Linked DNA regions of Homo sapiens: region 2 is linked to region 1. The links are contacts of gene promoters, found by promoter capture Hi-C in blood cells and fetal thymus (Javierre and others, 2016). All regions are on one chromosome and are shown on one strand. Each heading gives the region's core, a stretch centred on a gene start or on the middle of the fragment in contact. The rest is flanking DNA. Distances are from core to core; before and after follow the strand shown. Region 1 holds the start of SAMD4A (sterile alpha motif domain containing 4A). Region 2 overlaps SAMD4A (sterile alpha motif domain containing 4A).

What was found. The method cuts DNA at HindIII sites, captures the fragments that hold promoters and counts their contacts. A CHiCAGO score of 5 or more calls a contact.
Region 2: a contact is called between a fragment that was not itself captured here and the fragment with the promoter of SAMD4A in region 1, in 7 of 17 cell types (M0 macrophages, M1 macrophages, megakaryocytes and 4 more). The highest score is 8.5, in M0 macrophages.

The regions. Positions count from the first base shown.
Region 1 is chr14:54,565,202-54,568,867 of GRCh38, forward strand. SAMD4A (sterile alpha motif domain containing 4A) reads left to right here and starts at 1,927. Exons shown (of 13, transcript NM_015589.6): 1 at 1,927-2,137; 2 at 2,295-2,911. The coding sequence starts at 2,716. RefSeq lists silencers at 709-838, 1,399-1,448, 1,569-1,758, 2,599-2,658, 2,899-2,958 and 1 more. The HindIII fragment of the contact is 5,259 bases long and covers 1-3,348 here.
Region 2 is chr14:54,669,426-54,673,091 of GRCh38, forward strand. All of the region lies in intron 2 of SAMD4A (sterile alpha motif domain containing 4A), which reads left to right. Among named protein-coding and RNA genes, the nearest start is that of SAMD4A-AS1, 17 kb to the right of the region's middle. The HindIII fragment of the contact is 717 bases long and covers 1,648-2,364 here.

The sequences.
Region 1 (3,666 bases), core at 677-3,176:
CGCACTCTCCAGATCCAGGTGAAGGTTGCGAGGCCTGGCGACGCCTAAGCGCTGACAGGTGGCCTCGCCCCGCCTCTTTGTCGCCCAGGGCGGCGCTCGCCTCCGCTCCAGGCCAGAAGCCGCAGCCCGCGCGCCAGGCACAGCTCCCCCGACCGGTCTCAGGAGTTCGGCCACCTCCCCGGGGAAGAGTGGGACTCAGCCAGGCGCCGGGCCGGCCTCTAGGAGCCTGCGCCAGAGCAAAGGGCATCCGGCACCCGACCCGGGCCAGGCCCTTGGACTAGGGCGGCACGGAACCTAGCGCCTGGGCAGGTCCAACCCTGCGCACTGCCCCTCAGCCTCGTGAACCCTTCGCCTCCACGACCCCCGGAACCCATCCCAGCAAGTGCGGCAGTGACCTCGGGTCTCACCGCCCGGGGGCCAAACACCTCGGCCACCCCGGGGCCCCAGAAGGGCCGAGGGTCAGCCGAGCGGACGAACCACATTCCCAAGGACAAGCAGCGGGTGGCAGCACCGCCCCCGCCCGAGCGCCCTCGGGTCCCTTTCTGCCGGGGCTCCAGTGGCTTGAGTGTCCCGACCCCTCCAGAACACGCAGGCGGCCGCAGGAAGAAATTCACCCGGACCCGTCCTCTTCCCCGAACTTCTTCGTTCCTCTCGGAGGTTCCTTCTACCCGACCCCTCTGCGCCACCAGCTCCTCCCACTCCGCTCCCCTCCCCTTTTTCTGGTCCCCACTTAGGAATCCGTCCCCCCGCCCTGCGCCGGGTCCGGGGTTCCTCCCCCCGGCTCCCCCCGCGTGCCGTCGCCGCCGCCCGGGTTCCTCTCCCCCCGCTCGGGCGCTCCCTGCCAAGCCCATGATGTAATGGTGTATGTTAATCAGTAGCATGTGGGGAGCTCCGGCTCGGGCGGCTCAGTCCTCCGCGAGCCGACACTGGAGGCAGCAGCAGCGGCGGCTGCAGCGGCCCCGACTCGAAGCACCGCACTCTCCCCGCGCCGCCCGCCCCGACGGCATGGCCCGCGGCCGGCGCTCCGGGCGCCCCCAACCCCGCTGAGAGCCGCCGCGGCCCCGGACCCGCGCAAGGGCCCCCGAGCCGCCGGGATGAGCCGCGCCGAGGTGAGCGCTCCCTCCCTACGGCCCTCGGCGGGGGACCCGCGGGTCACTGGGGGTCCCCTCCCCGGGGGCTTCCCCCTCCGCCCGAGAAGTTCTGGGAGCCGGAAGCAGCGTGTTGTTGGAAGCTAGCGGCTCCTTGAAGGCTGAGTCGCTGGGTTCTCCTCCCCGCCGGCGGCGGCCACGAGAACCGGGATGGGACTGGGGGAACCCCCGCAGCCGAACTTTCTTTGCTGTCGTTGGGGGGCGTGTGCCTGCGGCGCCGATCCGCATTCCCCGCGGGGCCGCCCCGCTGGCCGAAGGGAGCAGCGCTGCGGACCCCGGCCGTCCCCTCGCGGGGCGTGTGCCCAGCGCTGTGCCGCCCTCGGCCTGCGACGCGCGGGCGAGGCTCCGGGCCGGACAGACCAGCCCGTAGGCGGCGGCGGCAGGATGCCTGCCACACACGCGCGCACACACACACGCACACGCGCGCGCACAGTGACCGCTCCGGCCGGAGCAGGCCCAGGGAGACCTCCCGGGTGGGCTGGTGCGGCGCGGCGCGGGGGAGCCGGGGCTCTGGGTTGCGCCGCCGCCCGCTGGGCGCGGAGCTTTGGGTGGAGAGAGTTTATTTTTGTCTCGAGCTGCTGCCGCGGCTGCTCACGGCCTAAATCCAGAGGGGCGCCTGGCGGTGGAGATGCTGGCTGTTGCTGTAGATGGAGCTGCAGCCGCTCGGCTGCTTCTCTGGGAGGAGGAGGAGGAGTAAGAGGAGGAGGAAGGAACTCGGGCTGCCGCTGCCTCCGCCTCTGCTTTGCATTAGCTCCCACCCCCACCCCCGCGCCCCTTCGCAGCCGCATTGCAAGTTTTCTGCGCGGGGAAGATCTGTTGCTGGTGCTGGCGTTCTTAAGCACGGCGCCCGAGGCCACCCCAGGCGGGCCGTGAGGGGAGCACCAGCCGTTGGCAGCGGCAGCAACAGGAAGCCGCGGGGTCTCCTCCCGCACCTGGGAAGCAGGCTTCTCGCTGTTACCCGGTGGGGAATAGCCCATCTCCCACATCGGGTGCGGAGGGGGCGGAGGGGGCGGCTGGATTTCGGCGAACCCAACCTTCCGCGGGACGCCCCCTCCCCTGGCCCCAGCACCCTCTGATGCCCTCGTCCCCCCAGGGCGCGCTCCTCCGCTAGCCGAGGTCTCACTGCAGCTCTTTCTCTCCTTCCAGTGGTGATCGCCGCTCGGGAATGCGGGCGTGAAGGGTCCGAGTTGCCGCCCAGCGGGGAGGAGACCCCAGGACGCCGGAAATCACCATCCCAAAGCTGCAAGAAGGGGGGAGAAAGCATTCTTCATTCAGTTGTGTGCCTTGTGGGGGATTTTTAAAAAGTCGTTTTTTTTTTTAAAGAAACATTTCCGTGCTACTGTCTGTCATCGTCTCTGGGGAAATCAGCCAGAACCACCGGAACGTAACTGAAACCAGACAAGAGAGGCAGGAGCCCAGGCAGTACCTGCAGCGTCCGGGCACCAGAGCCACCTTGGAACAGGAACGCGTCTCCGGCCGCGGGGCTGCGGCTCCGCCAAACTTTGGGGCGGGCGGGGCGGGCTGGGGCGCCCAGGGGGCTCTGTAGACCGAGGGCGGCCCCCTAACCATGATGTTTCGCGACCAGGTCGGGGTGCTGGCGGGCTGGTTTAAGGGCTGGAACGAGTGCGAGCAGACTGTTGCGCTGCTGTCGCTGCTCAAGCGCGTGAGCCAGACCCAGGCCCGCTTCCTCCAGCTCTGCCTGGAGCACTCGCTGGCCGACTGCGCCGAGCTGCACGTCCTCGAACGCGAGGCCAACAGCCCCGGTAAGTGTGCGGCGGCCGCCGCCGCCGTCCCGCCTGCCCAACCCCCGCTCCTCCCTCCGCTTCTCTGCCTCGGGCCAGGCCGAGGCCAGTCCCTGCCAGCCGCGCCGGGACCTGGACGGCGTGGCCCCGAGGCCCTCGGAATCCACCCCCTCCGGGTGTCCCCCCACTACCGCCCCCCACCTACTTACCTCCGCCGGCCGCTTTGGGATTTTGCCCACTGTGAACTCCGTCAGCCCTTTCCGTGTGGTAGCTACGGTAGCATGAATGATTGATTTTTCTCTCATGCAGTTTCCTGGGAAATAAGTAAGTCAGGTCACGTAGAGTCTGGATTTTCTGGGTGTGTGTGTTTTTTCCTTCCTCCTCCTTCTTTTGGGCAACGTGGCTCGCTGGATTTCAGCAACACATGATAGATGCCCGGGACTGCCCTTCAGAAGCCAAGCTTGGATAAGGCTGTGTGAGGAGTACATGAAAATCCAATTTTATTATTCATTTTTCCCCACAGATATTCTGGTTTTAGAGCTTCGTCTTCAGAATAATATGCAGGTGACGCTAGAGACTAGTAAAATGACATTTGCAGCATATATATATATATATATATATATATATATATATATATATATATATATATAATGCGGTTAAGCTTACTGCTCGTGACATTATCCATATTGATACGGATCTTGTAGAAAAAAAGGGTCTTGGAGAAAGGACAGGCATGAAGTGGGTTACTTAATGCTTTTCGTTAGGAAACTTTACTG
Region 2 (3,666 bases), core at 756-3,255, 100 kb after region 1:
TTAGAAGCAACGCTTCTTTCTTTTTTTTTTTTTTTTTTTTTTAGAGAGAGACAGGATCGCACTCTGTTGCCCAGGCTGGCTGGAGTGCAGTGGTGCGATCATCGCTCACTGCAGCCCTGAACTCCTAGGCTCAAGCAGTCCTCCTGCCTCAGCCTCCCAAGTAGCTAGGACCACAGGCGTGCACCACTACGCCCGGCTAGCACTCCTTTCTTTAGTCCACTGTTGGTGTTGGTTTTTAACTAGGCCCCCACTAGGTATTGCTGTTCCTGCCTATAATTAGCACCTCTTTTCTCTCACACACAGAAAAGTCTGTCTTAAACATATTGTGAGCTTCAGAGCATGTTAAAGAAAGTTGTCTGTCGCTTAGTAGCATGGAAAGATGACGTTGCCAGCATGCAGGGAACGCTTTGCACCAAGAATCCCGGAGTGAATCGAATAATATTCCAGATTCTATGAATCAGAGCTGAATCATGTTTAAGTGTATGCTGCGTTTTGAGGGATTCCCTTCTGCCCCCCCAGCCCCCTGGGGTGAAAAGCACTGCTTTTCCTGTGTAAAGAAAAAACGTTCACACCCAGACCAGTGAAATGTTTTTGTGGCCACGTTGTGAACGCACTGAGTGTTTGTTGTGGCCCAACTAAGACAACTTTATAGATTAATGAAGAGTGATGTATCCTTTCTTCCGAACAGAACATTTAGTTCTCGCTCTGCCTGTCTGACCCCAAGCAAGTCTGTCTGGCCCCATCCCTCATTCCCCGCCCCCATCTGCACCACCCTCTTGTAAATCTCTTAGTACATTTTTGTGATCGCCGTCCAGTCTGTTCCTAGGCATTAAGGACTCTCTGAGCTTTGTGAAAGTAGGTTACCGTTCATCTGGTTTCTTGGAAGAAATGTGCATGTGTAAGGGTAGCTTTTCACATAAAAGACCAAAACCACGAAATCCAGGAAGCCAAGAATGAATGGGCCCAGGTGACTTGCCTTTCTTAACTCTTACAGAAAGCGAAGCTCCTTCAGGGCTAAGAAAGGCATTGCTGTGTAGAGGACGGAGCCAGACGAAGCCTGGGGGAGGCAGAACTGGGTTCAAGCCTCAGCATTATGTTTTACCAGCTTTTGACCTCGGCCAAATGACTTAACTTTTCTGAATCACAATTCCCATCTGTAAAATAAGGATAATAAAGCCTGGCTTGTAGGCTTATTGAAAGAATTACAAATATAGGATATAAAGTGCCTAGCACGTGGTATGTGATTGATGGTAGCTGTTGTTATTGCTGCAATTGTTGTCTTCATATCATTGTTACCACCTCTACAAGTAGCTCTTGTATGTGGAGGGAACAGAGGAGAACTTAACTGCTGTTGCCTCCCATGCTCATAAGACATAGCTTTGACCTTCAAGACTACCTGCATTCCTTACCAATAGCAGCTAAAATTGCTCCTAAAACAACAAAAGTAAATATAAACATTGCAGCCACATAGAGATGAACACAAAGAAGGAAGTGTTCCTCATTCCAGCAGGAGATCCCTTAGCTGAGTGAATTCTTTTTCCCCTCCTTCCACCGATAAATATTGACAGGCACCCACCGAGGATGTGCAGAGCTCAGGCGTGGCTGAGGGGACCCAAGTTGAATCAGACATGGATTCTGTCTTCAAGAAGCTTACCATCTGCCAGGAAAGATGAAAAATGAAAGATAAGTGTGGCGAAAGTGAGGCAGAAAATGGTTAGATCGTAAGAGAAAGATCACTGAAGGGCTCTGGAACTTGGAAGGAAAAAGTAATTTTAGCTGGAGTTGGGACATGGGAGTTTTATGGAAGAGGCAGCCCAGCCCAGCAGCATCACTGTTAGGGACACAGATTCTGGGGTTTGAACCTTGGCTTTACTACTTATTTGTTGTGGCTTCTTGTGCAAGCTAGGTCCCATCTCCATGCTTCTGCTTCCTCATCTTTGAAATCTGGATAATAATAGTACCTAGGGGTGTTGTAAGGATTAAGTGAGATATGGAAAGTGCTTAGAACAGCACCTAGTGAGTGCAATGGGAGTGATTGTTAAATGAGTTTGTCAAAGGACAGGTATAGATTTGGCCTTCAAGGAGAGGTGGGCAGTGTTTGTCCAGGAGGAAGCACAGCCAAGGCAGAGGCTGGGCTGAGTGAGGCACAGGGTTAGAGAAGGTGAGAGGTGCAGAGGGCAGCTTGGGACAAGTGTCAGGCCTAGAATCTTGGACTTTACTGAACACGTGGAACGAACTCAGTCTTCCAGAATTCTGTAGTGGGTGTGTGTGAAGCCTGAATCTGAACCTGTCTCAGAGTAGGTTTCTACATCTCAGTGCCAGTGAATGTGGCAATGAACCAGCTGCCAGCAGGCATGAAATCAAAGCTTGGATTATCAGGGCTCAACGCATAGGCCTGAATTGACACCTCAGGGAAGAGGTGCGACAGGGCCCTAGCAGGAAGCTGAACTTTGGGGCAAGAGAAGGGGTGGTGCTGCAGAGGCATTGGGGTGGGGGCAGGAATGGAGAGTAGTGTTAGGGGGAGATTGGGAGATGGGGAGAAGGAAAATGTCACACCATTACCCCCATCTACTGCTTCCTTTTCTGTTTATAGTGTTTTTTTTTTTTTTTTTTTCTTCAGGGTATAGTCAGCCATTCTGCTTTGGAATTTGTTTTTGTTTTTAATTTAAATTTATTTTTTTTTGAGATGGGGTCTTGCCTTGTTGCCCAGGCTGGACTGGAACCCCTGGGTTCAAGCGATTCTCCCACTTCAGCTTTTGGAGTAGCTGGGAGTACGGGCATATGCCACCACATCCAGCTGTTTTTTTTGTGTTTTTTTCCCTCTTTTAAATTTTTTCGAGCCTTGGGATGCCTGTCAGCCACTTAAATGCAGTCATCTTTACTCTTCCTAAGCGCAGAAGGGTGTACGAGGGTGGAGGGAAGGTGGGAAGATTAAAACCAACCGTGGGAGACTATTTTCAGTCATCTGCAGACGTCTCACTTTGTCATGATGTGGAATCTGTCACTCTCTGCCTCCTCTTCTACCTATCTATAGCTGGAATTCCGTAAGACTTCAGAAAAGGCTGACTAAGGTTCACAGGGCCCCTGAGAGGGTGCCCTGTCATCCTGGGATTTGTTTTCCAAATTAAAAATTGGAGGATTTGAACACTAGGTTTGATCTGCTTTTAACTTTAGCTGCATAAAGGTTATCATGAATTTTTTTTAAATCTAACTTATTAGACAAGAATAGTATTATTTTTTAAGGGTTATAAGGATGTAGGGCAATTTCTAAGACCACATGTAAGTCATTTAAAATTCTTTTTGGTACAAGGTAGCATGTAAATAAGTCTATGTATGTACTAAATCAAGATCAATTACCATAAAATGTCTGTCTGTAACATGGGAACAATGAAATGATGAAGTGCAACTGTAAAGTAATTTGTTGCTCTGAAACCAGCTATGCATCTTCCCACGAAGTGACTAAGAGTGAAATATCACCGTGTTAACAGTTAGGAGAGTGATTTTCTGGCCCAAGATACATTTTGCCGGCATTAGAGACTCACCGGAAGAGATCTTGAATGATCTCCAGAGAGGTACCTGGGACCCTTTCTCGAAGGTTACCTTGCAGGCTTGGAAGGTAGACAAGCATATTTGTAAATGATGGGAAGTATTTGCTGATTTGGGCTT